Regions from separate parts of the Homo sapiens genome. Here region 1 is linked to region 2. The links are contacts of gene promoters, found by promoter capture Hi-C in human tissues and cell types (Jung and others, 2019). All regions are on one chromosome and are shown on one strand. Each heading gives the region's core, a stretch centred on a gene start or on the middle of the fragment in contact. The rest is flanking DNA. Distances are from core to core; before and after follow the strand shown. Region 1 overlaps LOC124904792 (zinc finger protein 480-like). Region 2 holds the start of ZNF765 (zinc finger protein 765).

Region 1 (5,225 bases), core at 1,903-4,402, 190 kb before region 2:
CTGGGATTACAGGCGAGAGCCACCGTGCCCAGCTTGTTCTGTTTCTCTTTCCTTTCTGAAATTTCATTCTTTGGAGTTGCAAATCTTCTTTGAGTCTGAAGCATCCTGCCTGACACGTTTGTTCGCACTCACCCGTGCCTTCCCTCAGTCCCTCTCATTTCACTTAGATTCCATTGCCTGTGACCCACTGATGTGAACTTGGGACGAGGCCCCACTGGGCATGGTCCTGGGAAGGGCTCACACCCATACATGGATGGACACGGCATGTGAGCCCCGTAGTGTTAGGACTGTTAGGCAAGAGGGATTGTTTAGCGGCCACATCTGGATGCACTGTGAGGTCTCTGTGGACCAGGAGTAGAGAAGCTGCACATGGAAGTCATGTACTAATGCGCACAAGTACCTGGTAATTCCAGAAAAGGAGGCTGATGAGGGGAATTCTGGCACATTGTTTGTCTGATTTAAGAATACATTCGAAGATAAATACATGAATCTGTATGTTTTTGGCTCCAGAATTGTTATGATTTGGAATGGAATGGAAAGTTCAGAAACACCTTAGTGAGGGGAGGGTGTTTTATTCTAGCACTGATTTGTTCTCTTTTTTGAGATGGAGTTTCGCTCTTGTTGCCTGGGTTAGAGTGCGATGGTGTGATCTTTGCTCACTGTAACCTCCGCCTCCCAGGTTCAAGCGATTATCCTGCCTCAGCCTCCCGAGTAGCTGGGATTACAGGCATGTGTCACCATGCCCGGCTAATTTTGTATTTTTAGGAGAGACGGGGTTTCTCCATGTTGGTCAGGCTGGTCTCAAACTCCCAAACTCAGGTGATCCATCCGCCTCGTCCTTCCAAAGTGCTGGGATTACCGGCGTGAGCCACCACGCCTGGCTCCACCAATTTTAAAATATGAAATCAATCTAAATCTCTTTTTTTTTTTTTGAGACAAAGTCTCACTCTTGTCCCCTAGGCTGGAGTGCGATGGTGCGATGTTGGCTCACTGCAACTTCCGTCTCCTGGGTTCAAGTGATTCTCCTGCCTGGGCCCCCTGAGTAGCTGGGATTACAGGTGCTTGCCACCACACCGGGCTAATTTTTGTATTTTTAGTAGAGATGGGGTTTTACCATGTTGGCCAGGCTGGTCTTGAACTCCTGACCTGAGGTGATCCACCTGCCTTGGCCTCCCAAAGTGCTGGGATTACAGGTGTGAGCCACCGCACCCGGCCAGAAAACAATCTAAATCTCTAACAGAAGGAGATTCTTTACGTCATTTTCAGCACATCCTTCTCTTGGAGGTTGCTTTTCAGCCTCTTGATTCTTTCTTTTGATGCAGAGATGTTTGTAAGTTTGATGTAGTCCCATTTGTATATTTTTGCTTTTCTTGCCTGTGTCTTTGGTGTCATATCTTAGAAATGACTGCAAAATTCAGTTTCGCAAACCTTTTCTCCTACACTTTCTTCTAGGAGTTTTATCATGTTAGGTCATATGTTGAGGCTTTTAATTCATTTTTCTTTTTTTTTGTTGTTTGTTTTTGTTTTTTGTTTTTTTTGTTACCCAGGCTGGAGTACAGTGGTGCGATCTTGGCTCACTGCAGCCTCTGCCTCCCGGGTTCAAGTGATTTTCCTGCCTCAGCCTCCCGAGTAGCTGGGACTACAGGTGCCCGCCATTTCACCACGTTGCCCAGGCTGGTCTCGAACTCTTGACCTCAGGTGATCCTCCCGCCTCAGCCTCCCAAAGTGCTGGGATTACAGGCGTGAGCCACTGCGCCCAGCCTAAATATTTAAATTTAAATGGATAGAATTTTATTTGTAGTTTGACTATAACTATTTCATAGGGATTGGAGTTAAAGTTTTAAATATTTTTTTCATGTTTTTACCATTCTTTTATTGGCATTATATAACATAATGTTGACAAACTAAGTTAAATACAACTTATACACTTTACTGTCCCCAAGATGCTGAAATGCACATGAGGAAAAATGATAATGAAAAAGTCATAAAAAGTATGTCATTGAGAGGCATGTTTTCTCTTTGTTAATTTACATTCGTGTATATATGTGTGCATGAATGTATGGATGAACTATCCTATGGCGTTTATAGACGACACATCACCATTTCATAAATCAGTTCCGTATTTTTATTTTTTTATTTTATTTTATTTATTTATTTTTTTGAGACGGAGTCTTACTTTGTTTCCCAGGCTGGAGTGCAGTGGTGCGATCTCGGCTCACTGCAACCTCTACCTCCTGGTTCAAGTGATTCTCCTGCCTCAGCCTCCCGAGTACCTGAGATTACAGGTGTGCACCACCACGCCCAGCTAATTTTCGTATTTTTAGTAGAGACGGGGTTTCACCATGTTGGCCAGTATGATATCAATCTCTTGACCTCATGATCACCAGCCTTGGCCTCCCAACGTGCTGGGATTACAGACGTGAGCCACCACGCCCGGCCACACTTTTTAGATTCTGACCTTTCTTTCTTTAAAGACACCATGGACATTGTCATCTCTGAAGACAACACACTTCTTCCAGCTCCTCCAGATACTGAATATCACTTTGTGTGTCAAACATAATATCTAGCACTTCTATAGAGATAGCTGTGTGTTGACTATTTATTTCTACGTTTCTTCCATTGTCTACAGAAAGAGAAATCCACACTTATTTAGAAGATATCATAAGCTCTTACAGAAGAGTATAATAAAATGCAATTAGGGAGACATACCTAATGTTCTTCCTAACGTCCCTAAATGCCCCAAAATACCTTAGCATGGATCTGCCAGAACTCTCCCTTCAGTAAATCAATACAATTCTCTCTTTTTCTCATTTTATGTAAAGATGATAACTCTCCCCCATGTGCTTGGTAAAATGTGTTTTTCAGACACGGTTTGCCTGAAAATACCTTTCCATGGATTTCCCAGAACGTTCATTTAAACTAAATTGACTTATACCTCTCTTTTTGTCATTTTGTGTGAAGATAATAGCTCTCCCCATGACTTCTTGGTGAAATGTGTTTTTTCATATCAGGGAAGGTTGACATTCAGGGACGTGGCCATCGAATTCTCTCAGGAGGAGTGGAAATGCCTGGACCCTGCTCAGAGGGCTTTGTACAGGGACGTGATGTTGGAGAACTACAGGAACCTGGTCTCCCTGGGTGAGGATAATGCCCCTCCAGAAGCTGGGATCTGCTCTGCTGTATCTCTGCATGTTCCCTGTGTGCCTCTTGGGAGCCCCTGCATTGCTCAATTAAGACTGAAGCTATGTTAATTCTCAGATGAAAAGCTTAATAGTGCAGCATCTGGACTTAATTATCCCATTTTCAAATGATCTACCTCCTTCAAGATATATCATTGGTGGTTCCAGAGCTTAAGTAGAAATAAACCCTATGGTAGACTTTAAAAATATCTACTTTGGGCCAGCGTGGTGGCTCACGCCTGTAATCCCAGCACTTTGGGAGGCCAAGGCGGGTGGGTCACCTGAGGTCAGGAGTTTGAGACTAGCCTGGCCAACATGGTGAAACCCCATCTCTACTAAAAATACAAAAAATTAGCCAGGCGTGGTGCCGAGCGCTTGTAATCCCAGCTACTTGGGAGGCCAAGGCAGGAGAATCACTTGAACCCGGGAGGCGGAGGTTGCAGTAAACCGAGATCGCGCCACTGCACTCCAGCCTGGGCAGCAAGAGCGAAACTCCATCTCAAAAAAAAAAAAAAAAGAAAAAGAAAAAGTAAAAAAATCCACTTTGCTCTTTTCTGCCCCTTTGCTTGTGATTCAGTACTTCCTAGAGGACAGTTCGATGTTCGTATTTTACCATGTTCCCTAAACATTCAGAAGGAGGCATTCAGTGGGTGAATTTGTGAAATATTTTTCTAGATCCATTTGTAATGTCCTCTTTCCTCCTCTAAACAAAGGGCTGGGATTCTGTAAAAGCCACAGCACATTACATGCCTTTCTTTTTCTAAGCAGGAATCTCTCTTTCTGAAATGAGTATTACCTCCATGTTGGGGCAAGGGAAAGAGCCCTGGACTGTGGAGAGTGAAGTGAAAATAACAAAAACATCAAGTGGTTGGGAATGCATCAAAGGTGTGAACACAGGTAAGAGCTCAAATGGACAGAGAGGAAGCTGCACCATTAGTATTCAGGTAACTCCTTCCGAGTTGAAGAGTTCTGTGGAACAAAAAGGGTTTAAATCCTGTGAGCTCTCAATGGAAACCTTTCTTTGCCCTCATTTATCCCTCTGCTCTTCTGACGTGTAGTAGTTTATCCTTTCACACTCCCATGGCGCTACAGCTCCAACAGTGACAAAGGCAAAGTCTTTATCATGATGGACAACACCCTGTCATGTGGCTTCTGTGACCTCTTTGGTTTCTTCACTCTGAGGGGCACAGGGAGGGTTGTGTCCAAGAGGTCTCCTGTGATCTCTCCTGTACCTGACTGCGTCTGATGCTCAGTTCTCTGTCTATACAGATCAGAGCTGAGGCCTCCATGGACCTGCCCCCTTGACCTATTCAGGTTTTGCCCCATTTCCTGTACTTGGGAGACCTAATCAGGTGACGGGAAAACATTGGCAGCTCCTCCTTTGCATCTGGGGCTCCGGAAACCTCATGGTGCTGTCTCCAGCCCTGTCTGTCTGTCAAAGTCTTTCAGCCTCAGTCATTTCTTCTGTTCTGCTTTTGCCACAGATTGCAGTGTGCGCCACAGGGGAGTACACGGGGTTTTCTGAGATTGTTTACTCAGGTCTGGAATGGCACTAGACAGAGAGGTCCTCTTTTTTTTTTTCTTCGAGACAGAGTCTGGCTCTCTTGCCCAGGCTGTGATGCAGTGGTGAGATCTCAACTCACTGGAACCTCTGCCTCCCAGGTTCAAGTAATTCTCTTCCCTCAGCCTCCTGAGTAGCTGGAACTACAGGCACATGTCACCACACCTGGCTAATTTTTGTATTTTTTTAAAAATTATTATACTTTAAGTTTTGGCATACATGTGCAGAACGTGCAGGTTTGTTACATAGGTATACGTGTGCCATGGAGGTTTGCTGCACCCATCAACCCGTCATCTATATTAGGTATTTCTCCTAATGCTATCCCTCCCCTACCTCCCCATCCCCTCCACAGGCCCTGGTATGTGATGTTCCCCCTCCCTGTGTCCATGTGTTCTCATTGTTCAACTCCCACTTATGAGTGAGAACATGCAGTGTTTGGTTTTCTGTTGTGTTAGTTTGCTGAGAATGATGGTTTCCAGCTTCAT
Region 2 (5,337 bases), core at 917-3,416:
TTTAGCGGCTGGGCCAGGAGAATCGCTTGAACCCGGGAGGTGGAGGTTGCAGTGAGCAGGTGAGATCGTGTCACTGCACTCCAGCCTAGGCAACAGAGCGAGACTCTGTCTCAAACAAACAAACAAAAAATTAGACAGGCATGGTGGCGTGTGCCTGTAATCCCAGCTACTTGGGAGGCTGAGGCAGGAGAACTGCTTGAATCCAAGAGGTGGAGGTTGCAGTGAGCCGAGATCGCCCCACTGCACTCCAGCCTGGGCGAGTCTTGCCCTTATTTACAGGAAAAGAGTTCTCCTGTAAATAACTAGGAAGACTAAGCAGCCCCAGAGATAAGGCCTCCTGGGATCATTGTCCCTTTTTATGGAGTGATAACATAACCTTCCTTGAAGTGTATGACTCCGTCACCAATCAACTTGCTGCAACCTATGCACTGGTCTTGAATGGAAAATGTGTTGATTCTCCTAAAACTTCTCTGTCTTTCCCTGTGTGTGAAACCTTAACGTCTCTACTTGGGAACGTTGATCCCATTCATTAGGAGTTGATGTTTGCCGGTGGCTATCCTCATGCTTTGTGTTCAGATAAACTCTATACTTAATCATAAATTCTAAATGTTATTATTTACTGCTGACATCAGTTTCTGTCACATTGTAGGAGCCTCACCAGAGAGGGCACCTGTAGCCATGTTGTAAAACTCACACTTGTCAAAAAGACATGGGTTAGTGTTTCTCCCCCTCCCTCTGCATGAAGCTAATTAGCTGACACAGATGGTCACCTCCATTACCAACTAGAGCCAGGATGAACTATGTGTGACCAAGGGTGTTGTCAAGTCCTTTTCCCTGAGGACTGATTAGTGTTTATCTTGAAAACATGTACTTAATGGGTTGTATAGAACTGTGAAGTGTCTTTCTCTTTTTTCAACCTCTTAGCTCTTTGCCTCTATTTCCCATCACATTCTGGTCTAAGGCTTACTTATTAATAAAATGGTGTTTATTTCTTTCTCTATTATCGTCATGGAGATGTTTTGTCATTTGGGGGAAGATTTTTTTGTTTCGTTTTCAATTGTATTTTCTTAACAATTAGAAAGTGAAGTAAAAAGTATTTGGCCAGGCGCGGTGGCTCCCGCCTGTGATCCCAGCACTTTGAGGAGGCCCAGGCAGGTGGATCCCTTAAAGTCAAGAGTTTGAGACCACACTGGCCAACATGGTGAAACTCGTCTACAAAAATACAAAAATTAGCCGGGCATGGTGGCACGCGCCTGTAATTGCAGATACTCTGGAGGCTGAGGCAGGGGAATCGCTGAAACCCAGGAGGCAGAGGCTGCAGTGAGCCGAGATCCCATCACGGCACTCTAGCCTGGGCGACAGAGAAATACTCTGTCTCAAAACAAAAGAAATAAGTAAATAAATAAAGGAATAAATCTCTTCCAAAAATGTGCTGAGGCAACTAACTGGATATCCACATGGAAAAGAATACTGTTAGATCCCTATCTCACACAATCAAACTCTTATTTTAAAACGTTTAAAAAAAAAGGAAAAAAAAGAGAGAGTGACGAGGAAGGGAGCCCTGCGGGAGGGGGTGTTACATTGTCGCCCAGGCTGGCCTGGACCCCCAGGCTCAGCAATCCTCCCGCCGCTGCTTCCTGAGTAGCTGGGACCTCAGTCTCCCGCGCCCGCGCCCACATCCCTGCTGTGTTTATCCAGAAGGTGGTGACCTCACTCCTCGCTGGCCTGAGCATTCCGTCCCACATCCCAGGCGGTGGCCCTAGGGAAGTCTCTGCAGCTGAGCACAGGGTGGACTCTCCCTCCCAAGTGAATGGAGACTGGAAAGGGAGAGGATTTCTATTCTGTTTTGTGGGCTGTCAGCATGAAATCGTACGTTCCATCCAGGCAGGGCTTTGCATTTTACATTCCAGTTTGCATCCCCGTTCCAGACAATTCCAGGGCTTTTGAATCATGCCTCAGCCTTCCTGGCCGGTCTCGCCTCCAAAACCCGAAAACTGAGGCCCTGGGAGCCAGGCTGAGAGACTCACAGGTCCCGCCACAGCCCCGCCCTCTGTCGGTTCTAAAGGGTAAAGTCTCTCTGCCCCGCCCCTACCTCGCCCAAGCCCGCCCACCTCCTCGCGGGTCCCGCCCAGGCCTGGCTTCTTTCCTGCGCGCGCAGCTTCGCGCAGACCCGGAAGCGGACGGCGTGGAGTGACTATCCCACCGCCGCGGGTGAGTTTCGCTCTGTTTTGTATTAAGTCTGTGCTTCCCAGGTCCCTGGCGCTTCTGTACCTGGGGCGTGGGGTCTCCACTAACCTGGAAATTCTCAGCCGTCTTCCTTCACCCAGAGCAAGTTGAGACGACCCCGTGAGAGTCCGGGGGTCGCTTCCTTTTGGGTTTAAGGTCCCCCTGAGGCTGGTCCCGTCCCGGGTGTTTCTGCTATAGGGCAATGTATACACTTTCTATCACGTAGTTTTCCTGCTCTGAAACTTTTTCTGACTCCTCCCGTCCCGCGCTTTTTAAAGTCCTCACCCGAGAGGTGAATTCCCTCCCTGAGCGCCTCCCAGTCTCGCCCTCGTTGGCAGCTGGACGCAGCGCGGCGGCCCCAGCCCCAAGGAGGCCGCGTCCTCTGTCTGGTCCTGGGATCCTGCAGACCCCACCCTTGTCTTAAGGCGCCGTGGCGCCGCCGCCTCCCTCCTTTTGCGGGCCCTACTGCTCCCCAGGTTCGCCTCCACAGTCACTGCTTTCCCTGAGCCCGAGTTAGGGAGGTGCCCGGGGCCTGTCCTGTGACACGGGGTGTTCTTGCCTGCCCAGCTCCAGCCCCTGGAAAATGCGCTCCCCCGGGATGCAGGCGTTTTGCTCCAAACCCTCCTGTGTCTTATCCAAAGCCTCCGGTGCTTGTGTAGGCTAAAGGGATCAGGAGACAGACGTAGAGCAGTAGAAAACCTGAGACAGAAAAGAAGAATAAAAAAGACTCATAACAGATGGCAAAGTAGAGGATGGGTGAGGGATTTGCCAGACACAGCAAATGTGGGGGAAAAAAAAAAAAAGGAGGAGAAAAGCAACTGGAGAAATGTAGAGAAAAGGTAGATGTACAGAGAGATGAAGGACAGAGAGCAAGGTAGGGAGAGGGACAGCAAAGAGGGAGGCTCATCAGAGTGAGGGAGAGGAGGAGGGATTTGGAGCCAGGGCAGACAGAGCAGAGTGGTGCTGGTGGCAAGGAGAACAGAGGGAGAAGCACAGCAGGGAGGACACCTGGGGATCTGGGGTGCTAGAGAGTGGGGATGAGGGTATAACAGGGAAGAGAGAATGTAACAGGGAGAGCAGAGGAGGCGCAGAGATGGTGTTGCGGGAAACTAAGTACTAGAGAGACCGGTATGCGGGAGACAGAACGATGTTTATTTAAGGTACGCACCGGCTCAGTGGATTTACATCTAAAAAGCTGAGCATTTCAACAAAGACAGAGTGGGGTTTTTATAAGCAGGCTTACAGAAGCAAAATAAAAGCAGTTAATCATGTAATGATTGGTCACATAATCTATAGCATAGCATAACTTGTGGCCTTGCATAGCTGGTGGTCTTGTAGCTGCATTGAAAGAAAAACAAGAACAGCTAAATACAGACTTTTTTTTTCTTCACTCTTGTTCTAAAGTGGGGTTTTCTGGAGCTCATTCCTTTGGCTTCAGCTGCACAAAAAGCGTTATCTTATAACTGTCCTTGAAGTGAGCTTGCTAGGCAGAGGAAAACTTGTTCTTCTTTTCTTTTTAACCCTTGCCTTGCCTGTTAGTTTTTTGGAGTGAATGAATGCATATTGATTTTTTAAATTTCTGCCTCAGTTTTCTCCCTTTGCTGCTTTTTATAAATAAGGTTTTAATAGAAAGCACCACTATTACTGGATTCTTCATGAAAGAGCAGGTTTTCTTCTTTAGGCACAGGCTGATATTTATATGGAGCTATTAGCTGAGTGGTAGTCTGCCTAGTCACAATTGCTTCTATAGTTGATTGAACGTTCTTAACAAGGAGAGGTGAGGTAAGGGAGTATTAAACCAATTCTTAGTATTTCTAGAACCACTCCTGTTAAGGTTTTGAATCGACTGAAGGAGGAAAACCAGCCTCTAAAGAGGGACTCGGGAGTCTACTTTGTCTAAGTCTGGACTGGAACATGGGATAATTTTTTTATTCTTGCAGTTACTTCTATAACAGCCTTCCTATTGTCATTGATTTCTAGGCAGCAATTAGTTAGATTAAACTTTCTACATACTCCTCCTTCCTAGGCTAGGAGGTAGTCGAAAGCTAATCTATTTTGGTAGATGGCATTTCTCATTTTTGTGGCTTGCTGGGCCAGTAAGTCTAATGCATTTGCTGTTTCATTAGTGATGATTCCAAGTACTGCTTGCAACTTTATGATGCGGTTAAGCGTGTAAACTTAAGTGTGCCCGGCTCAATTTTTGAATTTTTAGTAGAGACAGGGTTTCACCATGTTGGCCAGGCTGGTCTCGAACTCCTGAGCTCAAGCGATCCTCACACCTCAGCCTCCTAAGTAACTGGGACCACAGACACACAGACGTGCACAACCATGCCTGGCTAAGTTTTTGTACTTTTGGTAGAGATGGGGTTTCACCACGTTGCCCAGGCTGGTCTCAAACCTGAGCTCAAGAGATCTACGCACCTCGGCCTCCCAGAGTGCTGGGATGACAGGCATGAGCCACCGCACCCAGCCTTTGCATGAGGTTTGGTCAGGCCTGGGTCTGTGCCCTAAAGGGGAGCTCATCCCACCCCAGCTCCCCACTGCTGCAGCGTGTGTGTGGGCTTCTCCGGGAGGGGAGTGGGAGTTTTCCTGTAGGAGTTTATTGTCCCTGGTGTGGTCGGCAGCATAGGGGACCGTATGTCCTCAGGATGAGGTCTCCTTTGTATGTGTTGTTGTGTTACAGGGAGGGGATATGTTGATTCTGAGCAATAAACAACATATTTCTAACATTCAGGATTGACTTCTAAAGACTCTTGGTATGTGAGGAAGAAACCTGGAAGAGGAAGAGGAAAGCAAAGGAGTCAGGGATGGCTCTTCCTCAGGTGAGATGATATTCTTGGTGGATTGTTCTGTCTCCTTCTTTTCAGAAATGCTGACCTTGGAGTTTGGAATCTTCTCTGAGTCTGAAGCATCTTGCCTGACAGGTTTGCTCGCACTCACCCATGCCTTCCTTCATTCCCTCTTATCTTGCTTAGATTCCATCTCCCATGATCCAGTGACATGAACTTGGGAAGAGGCTGCACTGGGCATGGTCCTGGGAAGGGCTCACACCCAGACATGGATGGAGATGGGGTGAGGGTCCCATGGTGTCAGTGCTGTTGGGCAGCAGGG

Evidence for each region. Contacts are between HindIII fragments. The study calls those that stand out against the background at their distance.
Region 1: a fragment that was not itself captured here is called in contact with the fragment with the promoter of ZNF765 in region 2 in 1 of the 25 tissues and cell types used here (bladder).

What each region holds. Positions count from the first base shown.
Region 1 is chr19:53,201,005-53,206,229 of GRCh38, forward strand. It overlaps LOC124904792 (zinc finger protein 480-like), which reads left to right. Exons shown (of 5, transcript XM_047439805.1): 2 at 3,012-3,138; 3 at 3,945-4,076. Among named protein-coding and RNA genes, the nearest start is that of ZNF665, 10 kb to the left of the region's middle. The HindIII fragment of the contact is 4,533 bases long and covers 887-5,225 here.
Region 2 is chr19:53,392,983-53,398,319 of GRCh38, forward strand. It overlaps ZNF765 (zinc finger protein 765), which reads left to right and starts at 2,167. Exons shown (of 4, transcript NM_001040185.3): 1 at 2,167-2,211; 2 at 4,961-5,048. The coding sequence starts at 5,034. ZNF765-ZNF761 (ZNF765-ZNF761 readthrough) reads left to right here and starts at 2,167. Exons shown (of 13, transcript NM_001350496.2): 1 at 2,167-2,211; 2 at 4,961-5,048. RefSeq lists a silencer at 2,037-2,236. The HindIII fragment of the contact is 15,738 bases long and covers 1-5,337 here.